Regions from separate parts of the Homo sapiens genome. Here region 2 is linked to region 1. Evidence: promoter capture Hi-C in 16 types of primary human blood cells and fetal thymus (Javierre and others, 2016). All regions are on one chromosome and are shown on one strand. The core of a region is centred on a gene start or on the middle of the fragment in contact, and the rest is flanking DNA. Distances in the headings are between cores, read along the strand shown.

The links. The method cuts DNA at HindIII sites, captures the fragments that hold promoters and counts their contacts. A CHiCAGO score of 5 or more calls a contact.
Region 2: a fragment that was not itself captured here is called in contact with the fragment with the promoter of TCAF1 in region 1 in 1 of 17 cell types (M2 macrophages); the score reaches 5.1 in M2 macrophages.

Annotation. Positions count from the first base shown.
Region 1 is chr7:143,899,141-143,905,528 of GRCh38, forward strand. TCAF1 (TRPM8 channel associated factor 1) reads right to left here and starts at 3,036. Exons shown (of 9, transcript NM_014719.3): 1 at 2,821-3,036. LOC105375549 (a long non-coding RNA gene) reads left to right here. Exons shown (of 3, transcript XR_007060574.1): 3 at 1-2,813. RefSeq lists enhancers at 2,004-2,541, 2,217-2,266 and a silencer at 3,057-3,196. The HindIII fragment of the contact is 7,751 bases long and covers 1-5,564 here.
Region 2 is chr7:144,017,695-144,024,082 of GRCh38, forward strand. No RefSeq gene overlaps it. Among named protein-coding and RNA genes, the nearest start is that of OR6B1, 21 kb to the left of the region's middle. The HindIII fragment of the contact is 783 bases long and covers 3,098-3,880 here.

The DNA of each region.
Region 1 (6,388 bases), core at 1,786-4,285:
ATTATCAATCAGAATTCCAACAGGTTTATTTGCTTGTTTGTTTCTTGTTTTGGAGAACTTGATAAGTTTATTTAAATATTTATATGGAAGGTCAAAGGTCCAAGTAAAGCTAAAACACTCTTAAAGAAGAAGAAACAGGTGATAGGACTTTTCCTACCAAATTTCAAGGCTTTTAATAAAACTATAGTGGTTAAAAATTATTTAGTATTGAGGCAGAGTTAGACAAATAGAAAATAAGAATGGGGGCTTAAAACGAATTCATGCTTATATGGAAATCCTGATTCATGCAAATCACTGGTGCTGGGGCAACAGATTATCCATATGGAATAAACAACATAAAAATCAGTTTCCATGTGGATTAAGACTAATTGCCAAAGGCAAAACTATAACACTTTTAGAAAACGATACACTAAAATTAATCTATGATCTTGAGAAAACAATTATCAAACAAGAAAAGCTATAAAAGAAAGTACTACTAACTTGAAATTAAATTCAAAACTTAGATTCATTGATAGAAACAGAGAAAGAAACAGATATAAAGACATAGAGAGAAAGAAAACCTCAAAAGCAAATTGGAAAGATGTCTGTGGCATATATAGCTAACAATTACTGCTTCGTACCCAGATTATATAAAGAAAGCATTCCAATGAGTCAATAAAAAAGGTAAACAAACAATCCAATACAAAAATGAAAGAGACAGGAATCAGAATTTCACAAAGAGAAAGCACTGATCAACATATAAAAAGTCAATCTCATTAGTTATGGAAAATGCTAGTTAAAATCACAGTTAAATGCTATTTCATACCTGCCAGACTGACAAAAAATGTAATTTTACAAGACTAAGCTGTGGCAAGCATGTAGAGCAACAAGAATGCTCATCCACTGCTGGAGGGAGTGCAAACTGGTTTAACACTTTGGAAAGTTTAGAAATGACCCAATAAAATTGAATACACATAAATCTTATAACTCCGCAATTCTACTCCCAGCTATATACTCTAGGGAAGCTCCCACACAAGTGTACTTGAATATTAGAGGACATGGGCAGGCTTTAAAGTGGCCCCGATAATCCCTGCCTCCAGGTGTTCATGTCCTTGTGTCACCCCCTTCCCTTCAGTGTGAGTTGGGCCTAGGGACTCACTTCTAATGAATATAAAATGGCAAAAATAATGGGATGTCGCTTCTGAGGTTACAGAAAGAATCTGACTTCTGTCTTTCTCTTTTTCTCTGTGGGAGCCTTCTCTCTGGGGGGAGTAAGCTGCCATGTTGCAACCATTCTTTATACAGAGGCCCATGTGGCAAAGAACTGATGTGTACAGCCAGGGTCAGTGAGGCCAATCGGCCTGCCAGCAGTCATGTGAGTAAGCCTGGGAGAGGTCCTCGACCCTACGCCTAGCCTTGAGATGACTGAGGCCCAGTCAATACCTTGATTGTTGATACAGCTTGTGAGAGACCCTGAGTCAGAGACTCCCAGCTAAGCCCCTCCTGGATTCCTGATCACAGAAACTGTAAGATAGGAGGTAACAGGACTTGTTTTGTTTGTTCGCTTTGGTTTGAAGCTGCTAGGTGTTGGGGTAATTTGTTACATAGCTTATAGATAAATCATACACCTCCAAAAGTAGAAACAATCCAATGTCCATCAGCAGTAGAATGGATAAATTATGTACATTTACACCTTAAATGACGAAAACGAAAATGGAAGGAAGCATGAAAGATGAATCTATAAAACTTAAGAATACGTACAGGATAATGTCATTAATATAATGTCATTATAATGAGAAAGCCAATACATATGTTTTAGGAATACACACACAAATATGGTAAAACTAAAAAGAAAAGCAAGGGATTCATTAAATTAAGACAAAAATCACGAAAGATGTCACATCTCAGAGAATGGAGGAGAATGGACCATGGGCATCAGTTGGGACTCATGGGCTTCTAAGGTACTGTGACGCCCTATTTCTTGACCCAAGGAGATGGTCAGGCATTCGTTTCATTATTTTTTAGACCATTCTGAGATATTTCATTTACTTTTTATTCAACATTTTAAAACAAAGTATTGAAACCAATTCATCAACAAATCACTAGTTTGGAGGATGAAAGTGATGGACCGATGGTTGGCTGGTCAGCTAGACAGACACATTCTGTCCTTTACGTCTAGTTCGAGCTGTACTTCTTCTAAATTTCCATGATTATCCAATTGGCAAAGATCTTTTTCTCCTGTACTTAAGGCCTTCTTCCGTTGCAGGTTGGGCCAAACTAGCGGCCAGCTCTCGGCTGTTTACCAGGGAACTGTATCACCCAGCACTTGCTGCTTCAGGCCAAATGCATTCCAGACTAACATTCAGCCTGAATCCCCGCGCCGCTCTCACCGCCACCCCTCCCCAGGTCCCTTCCCCCACCACAAACCCACACTGCGCCCGTGGGCGCCTAGAGCACTGGGGTGGATGAGAACTTCCACCTGGGCTTAACGGAGACAAGCTAGCCTAGAAGAATGCAAGCCCCCAGCTGGCGAGATCAAATCGCCTCGAGGGTTCCTGCTAGCTCAGATCTTAATGGCTCCTTGCGGAGCAAAAAACAAATCCTACGAAAATAGGGGGGGTCATCGCCTCCTGCCCAGCAGAGGGCATAACAATGCGGCGAGAATGAAATAGGCACCGAGCTGCAGAGAAAAATCATCAACGGGGTAGAGACGAAGGAAGGGATCCTCGGTGGAACGGCTCTATCACCTGGGGGCGCGCGCAGAGGCCGCAATCCACGCCCGGCCCTCCCCAGACGCTAAACGTCGCACCCCGCCCACCGCTCCCCGCCCCGGACACTAACCCGGGGCCCAGGCCTCGGTCACCGCGGGCCTCTCCTGGTCCAGAGTCTACGCTGAACCCCACTCACTGTTTGCCCCGCTGTTCCCTGCAGCGCGGGTTCGGGGCAGTAGCAACCTGCTAGGAGCGGGAGGCGGTTGTTCCCAGGAGGAAGCAGCTTCTCCGCCCAGGAGGCAAAGGGCAGCGGGCTCGAAACTACAGGACTTGGAAAGTCTTAGGCGGAGACTGCGGGGGTGGGGGGTGGTGAGGAGGGGCCTTCCAGGGAGCTGATTGGTCGACGCGGACGGGGGCGGGACTTGGCCGGCGCCGTCCCTCCCCTAGACCTCAGAGGCCCTGCCCGCAGATGTGGCGCCAAATCCCGGATGCAGGCCTAGGCGCCAGCCCAGGAATATAGGGAGCAAATTGTTAAGAACAAAACAAAACAAAACAAAAGTGAGAATACTTCTGAACAAGTGACGGCCTTGATAAATAGCGAGAGATGTTTATATAAAATAATACAGGACTATTTTTAAGGACGAGTGAAATCTATCGGTTCTAGCTATAGTTTTTAATTAAAAAAGCAAGTTGTATTAAAATGGAGAGTAGGATCTCTCTTTCCCCCTCCCCTCCCCTCCCCTCCCCTCCCCTCCCCTCCCCTCCCCTCCAGGGGGAGGGTCTGCTTCTGCCACCCAGGCTGGAGTGCAGTGGTGCCATCACAGCTCACTGCAGCTTCAACCTCCCAGGCTCAAGCGATCCTTCCACCTCAGAGGCTGGGACCACAAGTGCGCCGCCACCACGCCCAGCTAACTTTTTGATTTTTTGTTAGAGACAGGGTTTTACTTTGTTGCCCAGGCTGGTCTCGAACGCCAGGGCTCAAGTGATCCTCCCGCCTCGGCCTCCCAAAGTGCTGGGATCACAGGCCTGAGCCACTGCATCAGCTTTAGCATTACATTCGTGTATGAAGAAGACATGCTGCATGTGCTTCTATAAGAGGCGGGGCTAACGGTGGAGAAATTGTCTATTGATTCTTACCTTCACAACCACTGAATTGTTTTTTTTTAAACCAATACATTGTTTTTATAAGTTTAATAAAACAGTAAGGCGTTGAGAATGTTACTAACCAATCAACAGATGACAGATATTGGGCATGAGGGAGGAAAGAAAGAAAGGAGTAGCAGGGAAAAAGCCTGGACTTTGAAGCCACCACATCCTCTGCTTACAAGTTGGGCAGTGTATTCATTGCTAAGGCTGCTGTGATAAATTTTCACACATTTAGTGGCTTAAAACAACACAGATTTACTACTATCTTCCAGGACTGTAGGTCCTGGAAGTCCAGCACAGGTCTCACTGGGCTATCATCCAGGTGTAGGCAGGGATGTGTTTCTCTTTGCAGGATCTAGGGACAAATCTATTTTCCTTGCTTTTTCCAGCTTCCAGAGGCTCCCGCATTCCCTGGCTTGCAGCCCTTTCCTTCATCTTCAAAGTCAGCAATCTCATGGCTCCAGCCTCTGCTTCTGTGTCACATCTCCTTCTTTGAGTCTCCTGCTTCCTTCTTTCACTTAGAAGGACCTTGTGATTACATTGTGCCTATCCAGATAATCTAGATAATTTCCCATCTCAAGGTCAGCTAATTAGCAGCCTTCATTCTGTCTGCAACCTTAATTCTCCCTTGCCATGTAGCATTGCGTATCACAAATTCTGGGAATTAGGATCTGGACATCTGTATTAATCCATTTTCACACTGCAGATAAAGACATTCCCCAGACTGGGCAATTTACAAAAGAAAGAGGTTTAATTGGACTCACAGTTTCACGTGGTTGGGGAGGCCTCACAATCATGGCAGAAGGCAAGGAGAAGCAAGTCACATCTTATGTGGATGGCGGCAGGCAAAGAGACAGCTTGTTCAGGGAAACTGCCGTTTTTAAAACCATCGGATCTCCTGCGACCTCTCCACTATCATGAGAACGGTTGGGGAAAGACCCACCCCCATGATTCAATCATCTCCCACCAGATCCCTCCCATAACACGTGGGAATTATGGGAGCTGCAAGATGAGATTTGGGTGGGGGCACATAGCCAAACCATATCAACATCTTTAGGGAGCTATTTTTCTGCCTATCACAGAGGGCTTGTTAACTTCTATCTTAGTGTTTTCATCTGTAACATTGGGGATAATAATTGTCTCTACTTCATGGAATTTTTATGAAGATTAAATGACTTAATACAGATAAAGCTCTTAAAGCAGTGTCTGGCACATGGAAAACCCTATGTGAATGTTCACCATTACCAGAGAATGGACAGATCCTTCCAGACTTCTTCCATGATTTCCTTGGCCCTTGTCTCCTTTGCTCTTCAAATCTCCAAGTTGTGTGTTCTCTCCTCATTTCCCTGCAAATCTAGTCTCCCCTCAAAACTACATAGGCCTAGCCTGAGATTGGAGGGCAGACATGGATGGGACTTTACTTCTAAGAGATTTCTAGAAGTGAATGCACCCAGCTACTAGCACAGAGGCATAGTTTATGACTACTATGGTGAAAGGAAAAACCAGCGTCTGGATGTGTTTGTGCGGTTAAATGGGGTGTCTGGGGGGAAACTGTGGGGGCAGGTGGGTGTTTGGGGATTGTAGACTGAGTGTGTCTGAAAGACCAGGATTGCTTGCAGTTACCTCTCTTTCTCATTCTCTCATTTCTCATTCTCTCTGCCAAGACAGCTGCACTTCTCTCTTGCCAGATCCCTTCTCCCCTCAGAAGCTGACAGTCAACAGGACATAAGCTTGCCCACCCCCACTCCCTCTCCAGGCACACAAGCAAAACCCACCATTTTTAGTTGCTGTTGTTTTTGCTGTGCAATTGGTCATAGAATTTCAGAGCTACAACATCTCATCCACTCTCCTCCTTTATATTAATACAAAAAGGAACACTGAAATGCAAGCAGCAGAAGGGGTTTGCAGCAGGTAGAGGTGGAGCATGACCTTGGAATTCAGATGCCAGCGCTCTTGCAGTACAAAGTCCTTGAGGCTGAGATCACTGGCTAGTCCTCTCGGCGCCTCATGTTTCTGTGTGTGTGTGTGTGTGTGTGTGTGTGTGTGTGTGTGTGTGTGTGTGTTTGTGTGTGTATATGTTTTAGGGTATGGAAGGACACGGAGCCAGTGCAGCAGAGAAAACCCCTTCACCAGCAAGCACACCAAGACTCCTGAACCTGGGCCAGTGCGAGTTCTGGGCCAGCCAAGGCCAGGAGTTTCCATTTCACTTGCCTCCTCCCGCTACTGGCCACCCCTCAGCTCCTCCAACCCCCTCACCCACCACTCCCCCACCCCTTTCCTCTCCTTCTCAGGCTTGCTCTTTGTGGACTGGCTGTGATCCTGGGAGGAAAGGAGGAGAGAGGGGAGCCCTGCCAGACTGCAAGCAGAGTGCTGACAGCCCCTAGGAGTTTAAGATGACCTTTCTTACACGTCATCGCATGTTTTATAGCTCTGAAGAGCAGCAGTCTTTTTGGTGGCTAGTAAGTGCAGTACTAGACAACAAGGCAAGTGGTCTGTTGGTAAGAGTTCCTGCCCACGATGCTCTCTACCTGTAAGGAATTAAATTATCTCGG
Region 2 (6,388 bases), core at 2,239-4,738, 120 kb after region 1:
TAATTAACTGTTTTTTTTTTTCTTAAATAGATCCCTATGTTAACAATCTACTACCTTGTATATAGTGGGTTTCTCTAACCAGATCCCTCTAATCTGGGAATGATCACCAGACCGAAGCCCAAGACTGGCACTGCCTAATGCCATAGTCTGGGCTGAATGAAACAATTATAAGGAAGGAAACTGGTCCTGTTAAAACTTATTTTGATTTGATTTCATGAAAGAAAAGATCTGGAAAAAGATAGGAAGATGCTTTGAACCTCTGTATTGAATCTTGGCAAATTTCACCTTAGTTAAAGATGAGCTAGAGCAATGACAACAGCACATACCTATGGACACGAGGAAGCCACAGCGTGGAAAGACCAAGGGAAAGAGTGTATTTCTGAAAATGGCATATGGCAGAATCTACAGGAAATTCAAGGAAACTGTTTTGCATTCTCCCAAGAGTCCAAGGATTTATGGCTTTTATCATTAAAGTACATAGTCAGGGAAAAAATAACATGACATATATGAGATGAAGAGTCTAGTGTATAAACAGGAAACAGATTATTAAGAAATGTTTTAGATGCAAGCAGTGGAGGTTTGACTCAAGCTGGATTAAACAGTAAGGAGAATGTATTGTCTTGAGTAACCTAACAAAGGATGGACACATTTTAGGCGAGCCTTGATCCTCAGGTCGGTTGTATCTCCAACATCCCGTTTCCTTTTATCTGTCTTTCTGCCTTCCACGTAGTTTGGTTCCACTTGGAACTGACTTCTTTGTGGTCATAATATGTCTGTCAGCATCTTCTGGGACCCCAGACTTCTTCTAGTAGGAAGAGAATGCCTCTCCTGGCACTTATTTCAAACAAACAGACATTTCTTTCCTAGAAACCCTTATAAAATTTCTCCTCAGGTGTTATGGGTTAGAATTTAGTCATATGTCCATGCCTTCCCCTGAAACCATCTCTATGCCCAAGAGACTGAAACATGCTAATGGGCTTAAGCGAGTCAGGGATTACACCTGGGACCAGAAATGGAATCGACCTCCAAAGCTCATGGGCTACACAAAGGAGAGTACATACCTGAATTAAAATTGTGATTCTGTTACCAACAGGAGTGTGTTAGTCCGTTTTCACGCTGCTGATGGGAAATTTACAAAAGAAAGAGGCTTATTGGACTCACAGTTCCACATGGCTGGGGAGGCCTCACAATCATGGCAGAAGGCAAGGAGGAGCAAGTCACATCTTACGTGGATGGCAGCAGGCAAAGAGAGAGCTTGTGCAGAAAAACTCTCGTTTTCAAAACCATCAGATCTCATGAAACCCATTCACTATCATGAGAACAACATGAGAAAGACCCAACCCCATGATTCAATCATCTCCCACAGGGTCCCTCCCACAACACGTGGGTATTATGGGAGCTACAAGATGAGATTTGGGTGGGGACACAGAGCTAAACCATATCAAGGAGGGAGCAGTTGATGCTGAATGGCTCAAAATAGTACATACCCACTATACTACTTCATTTTGGTTGTGTAAAACCCTCATTTATTTTACTTCCCAAGATGAATGGGGAATTTCTAAAATGCTCATGCTAAAAAAACAGAAACAAAACAGAATAAAACCAAACACACACACACACACTCACAACTTCTCACACTACTGCTGAATGGAGATAACATAGAGTCCCATCGATCACATCAAGCTCCAGGTCTAAAATAAAATATCAAGCAGTCCTGTTCATATGTGCAGATAAAATTGTTGGTTTTTTTTTCCTTTTAAAATGTCTTAAACTTGGAAACAGACAAAATAAACTTTGATTGCCTCTTTTTGTTTCTGGGAGGATCTCCTGTTCATTGTCTCCCATGGTTACATGTGAGTTACACAACAGGGAAATTTGTTTTTCTAAGCATGCTCTGCTCACCAAGGGCATCTTCACTGGTTTATTTAAGTATTCAAACTCAAAAGACTCCCGAAGGCCACATTAGCCACCAATGACTCAGAAGGATATCAGATAAGAACAGCTGCTATTTAGTAAGACAATGTCAGGCATTTCTCTCAGCAGAAGCTTTTGCATCAGCAATCTGTGTACTGGTCCACATAGCCGCCCACAGGCTGTCCTCTTCATAGGTGACAATTTAGATCAAAGGTTGAGATTCACATTGGAGGGTGCAGGGATTTTCCTAACTTAAAAGCCACATGATCCATAGGAACCAGTATGTCCTATAAGAACTGCAGGGACATAGATTGCAGGATTCTCATAACAGGGACGTGCCCCTTATAAGAATCACCAAACACACCAAAAAATTGCCATGCCTATTAGAATAACTATTTATAATTATTTTATTGTTACTCCAAGTCCAGATGTAACTTAACAATCAAGAGTCCTTTTTTGTTTTGTTTTGTTTTTTCAAAATCATTGTGAACCAACCATACAGTTGACACATTCCATCTTAGCTAGTTTCCAGGTTAACAGAGTCAAAATCACATAACTAAACAGTCCAGAGCACTTAAATGAAGGTGCTTCCTCGCTGATCTACAAGGGACCATGGTGTTTTAGAAACCCACTTCTCAGTTCACTTTTAGCATTCTGCAGACACTTTAGAAGTTGAGTTAAGCAGAGGCTATTAGCAATCTGGCGTGGAATTTCTCTGTCAATACTACCACACATTTCTCTGTCAAAACTCCCACAAATGTATAGTGGGGTTTTATTCTCTTTGGTCCCATCAATTTGGGCTAGTGACCAAAGTGAAATACTTGATTCTAAAATTAGGTTTGGGAATTTCTGCATGGCCTAGAAATGGGCCTTCAATGTTCATTCCCCTGTTTCTCTTCAATGACGTACACTTTGTCTTCTACCCCTGAAAAAGAAGAAATAATGATCCCATGAGGACTCACTAATAAGCTGCACTTGGCCCCGGGGCTGTATGTCTGTGAATAAATGACCTTCTATAACAGGAATAACAACTTTGTGTCAGGAATAACGTGTATTTCAGAAGTTCCCTGAATGGAGTTACTTTGGGCTACAACTAGAGAGTTTAGCTTTTTTCTTCATGCCAGCTCAAGACTACCGGGGTCTTTGACAGTTTGGATTGCTGGTTAAAGGCAAAAAAAAAAAAAGCTTCATTTGGACAAGGGAGACCTATGTGCCATCCCCCTCTGCCTTCAGACACTGACAGTCGAAGGTCATTTCTTTCTATCGGAACCACAAGAAGTACTTAATGTACTCTGATAGTCTAAAATTTTCCTATCAAGTCTATTTTCCTATCTATCCTATCTATCAAGCTAGTTTCATAGTCTGACTCACAAGACAGCATAGGTGGCATTTTAACCAGCTGTTTTGCAAACACGTAATGCAGATCACTAACGTCCCAGCATGGGAAAGAGACATGCCCACGACCCTCCATCCTATCTCATTGTAGCCGATCTCACCTCTTAGGGCCTCCTTGCCTCACGCATCTCTGGTACCAGATTAATTATCAGTTAGGAACCTTTCCAATATAAGTAACAGAAAATTCAGCTCAAAGTGGCTAAAACAATAGACTGTATTCGTTCACATAACTAAACAGTTCTGATGCCACAGGTGAAGAGGCTAACTCACTGATCCTCAGTGCACAAGGTCAGCGGTTACATTCCAGCTGGCTTTCTGTGCTGTGTATCATATAAAGGAAGTCCCTCAAGGGCTTGGCCCCTTGCGAGGAGGGGACTCCATGGCTTTTCCTCACTCTTGTGCTGAGTCTTCTCCCTCTGTCTTTATTTCTCTTCCCAAAGCCATCCTCCTTATCAAAACTCTCCGCTAAACCCCAGTTCCCCCGCCCACCCCATCTTCCAATTCCTCTTGGTGAAAATGCAGCCCCTTCTACCGGGAGGTCTTGCTGCTCCTCAGATCTTTTCTTGCCCAAAGCTTCAGCCAGACAAGCCTTAGTATTCACTGCCATTCAATCCCTGAGGATGAACGTGGGTTCTCTAATTAAAATTCAATTTTTTTACCAGTGCTAACCTCCAGCCTGCTTGTTCCATTTCTAGATTGCCTGTTAAATAACAACAATTTTCAAAGAAAAATGTTGACTTTAATCAGAGAAAATACAGGACACTGATTGTTGGGCTCCAGCCATGGCCTTCAATCAGCGGCTATTAGTAAGTGTTTTGAGAGGCACCTTTGAATTGGTCTCCCTGGAACTCAATGTCTATTTTATAGACTGTTTGTTTGTTTCAGGATGCATCTAACAAAAATATTTTGACTTAAGGCCACTCTTTGACAGAAACACAGACATATATATATATATATATATTTTTTTTTTTTTCTGGAGGGCAATTTAATATGTAGACCCTTTAATAAATAAACACATAGATAAGTAAGTATGACAAATATTTATTGCATGCTGAGGAAACAGAGTAATGGAATTCATAAATTCCATTTATGAATTTTAAACTTGAAGCTAGAGAAACACAGTATACACATGTTGACTTCAGATTATAAAAAAGTAGCATGAAGAAAATAAAGAGAATATATTGATTCTATTAGTCAGGTTCTTGCCAGGAAACATAGTTTATCTCAGATGATTCCAATGAAGAGATTTTAGTGAAGGCACCACTTACAGAGATGTGAACTGGGATACAGGAACAAACAAGGGATGCTGAGGCACCCAGAGACCAGCAACATTAGGAAGCCATTAACATCTCTAAGAGCTGGCAGAACAGGCAGCTCTTCTAAGAGCTGGAGGGATTCAGTTATGCTAGAGACATAGTATAAAGCACAGGGAGAATTGGAAGGAAATCCTGCTATCTCAGTCTCCTTTTGTTCTTTTATCTCCAAAGGGAGACTGAGATAGCAGGATTTCCTTCTAATTCTCCCCATGCTTATTCTGTTGGCTGAATCTATCCAGAAACCAGGCAGCAAAAAAAAAGTTGGGAGATGTAAATGATAGGACCCAGTCTCTTGGGGAAAGAAAAAGTCAGAGAGCAGATTTGGGGTAGTGGGGCAGGGCAGGTCAGGGTAAGCATAGACTGCTTTAGGAACAATGATCAAGGGAAGGACAGGAGGAGGTAGCATTGTACACAAAGCCCAAATGATGAGCTGGAGCCAGCTGTGGGAAGTATAGGGCAGTGGCTGCAAAAACCTGTCTCTGGGCTAGACTTCTGATTTGAAGCTAGTTCCTGGTGTGTAAACTTGGATGACTTTACCCTCTCTGTGCCTCAGTTTCCTCATAATTGAAACAAAGCTAATAATCACACCGATTCCATTGCATTGTTTTGAAAACTCCATTAAATACAGATAAAGTACTTAGACCCATGCTTGGTATATAGTCAGCGCTCAATGAAATATTATTTTATTTGTATTTGGGCAAATGTTTATGAGCAGAGCAAGTACTGAGTGTAAAAGTTTGTAGTGAGAACTAGAGTAGCATGTCCCATGAATAAGGCTGATAATGATGTGGTTAAAGTAAAACTTGCAGTATAGGAATTCCAATTAGAAACTTATACTAAGAAAATGAAGTTATGTAAAAGTAAAAATGGGATGCTCATTGCAATGTTGTTTATAACAGAAAAATCAGGGAATGGGACAGCATTTCAAAAAATATAGTTCAATGGAGTAAAATGTAGCATATTCTTATATTGGAAAAGGTAGCTAATGACATGGAAAGTGGCGTATAGTGATGATATATTATTGTTAGCTCAGCAATAATATAAATTACATATTTAGATTTAATATTATAAATTTAATGATTTATATTTAATAATATGAATTAAATATAATTTAATTGCACTGCACTCCAGCCTGGGTGACAAAGTGAGATCTTGTCTCCAAAAGAAAACAAACAAACAAAAAGATGTCTGGTGTAAAACATGGCTTTTGTAGGAGGAGGCTGGCCATGATTTACTTGATATTAAAAATTATCAGAGATCTTCTGGATCAGAGCAGCTTCATCAATCTTTCCTTTTGTTATGTTGTCATGGTAACAATAGGGCTCAGGCTAAAGCAGCCCTTATAGTTCAGTGTAAATCATATTTAACATTTGAGAAGTTTCCCCTTTTGACTCATGCTTTGACTGAGACGTTGAAAGATCCGCATGGTGTGCTGAGACAATATGGTCAATAACGATCTTGATCCTAAAATCTAGATATACTAAAATTTAAAAGGTGTTTGTCTAGGAGTGGATGGCTTGCCGGGTTTTTGTATCTCTTCCTCTTCACCCTGACCTTGCTTCTTCTTCACTACAGTGTATTTTCTACTTTTTTTCCTGTTTAAAAATGCTGTATCACTTGTTTTTAAGATAAAATAATTCCCTGTCCCCTCCACCCTGCAGATTAAAATGCTAATCTGATGCTGTTGGCCTCCTCTTCAGAACACCTCAGTGTTTCTCTCCACCACCTGCAGTCAGAGGCAGGGTCCTGTGCTTCGCAGCATC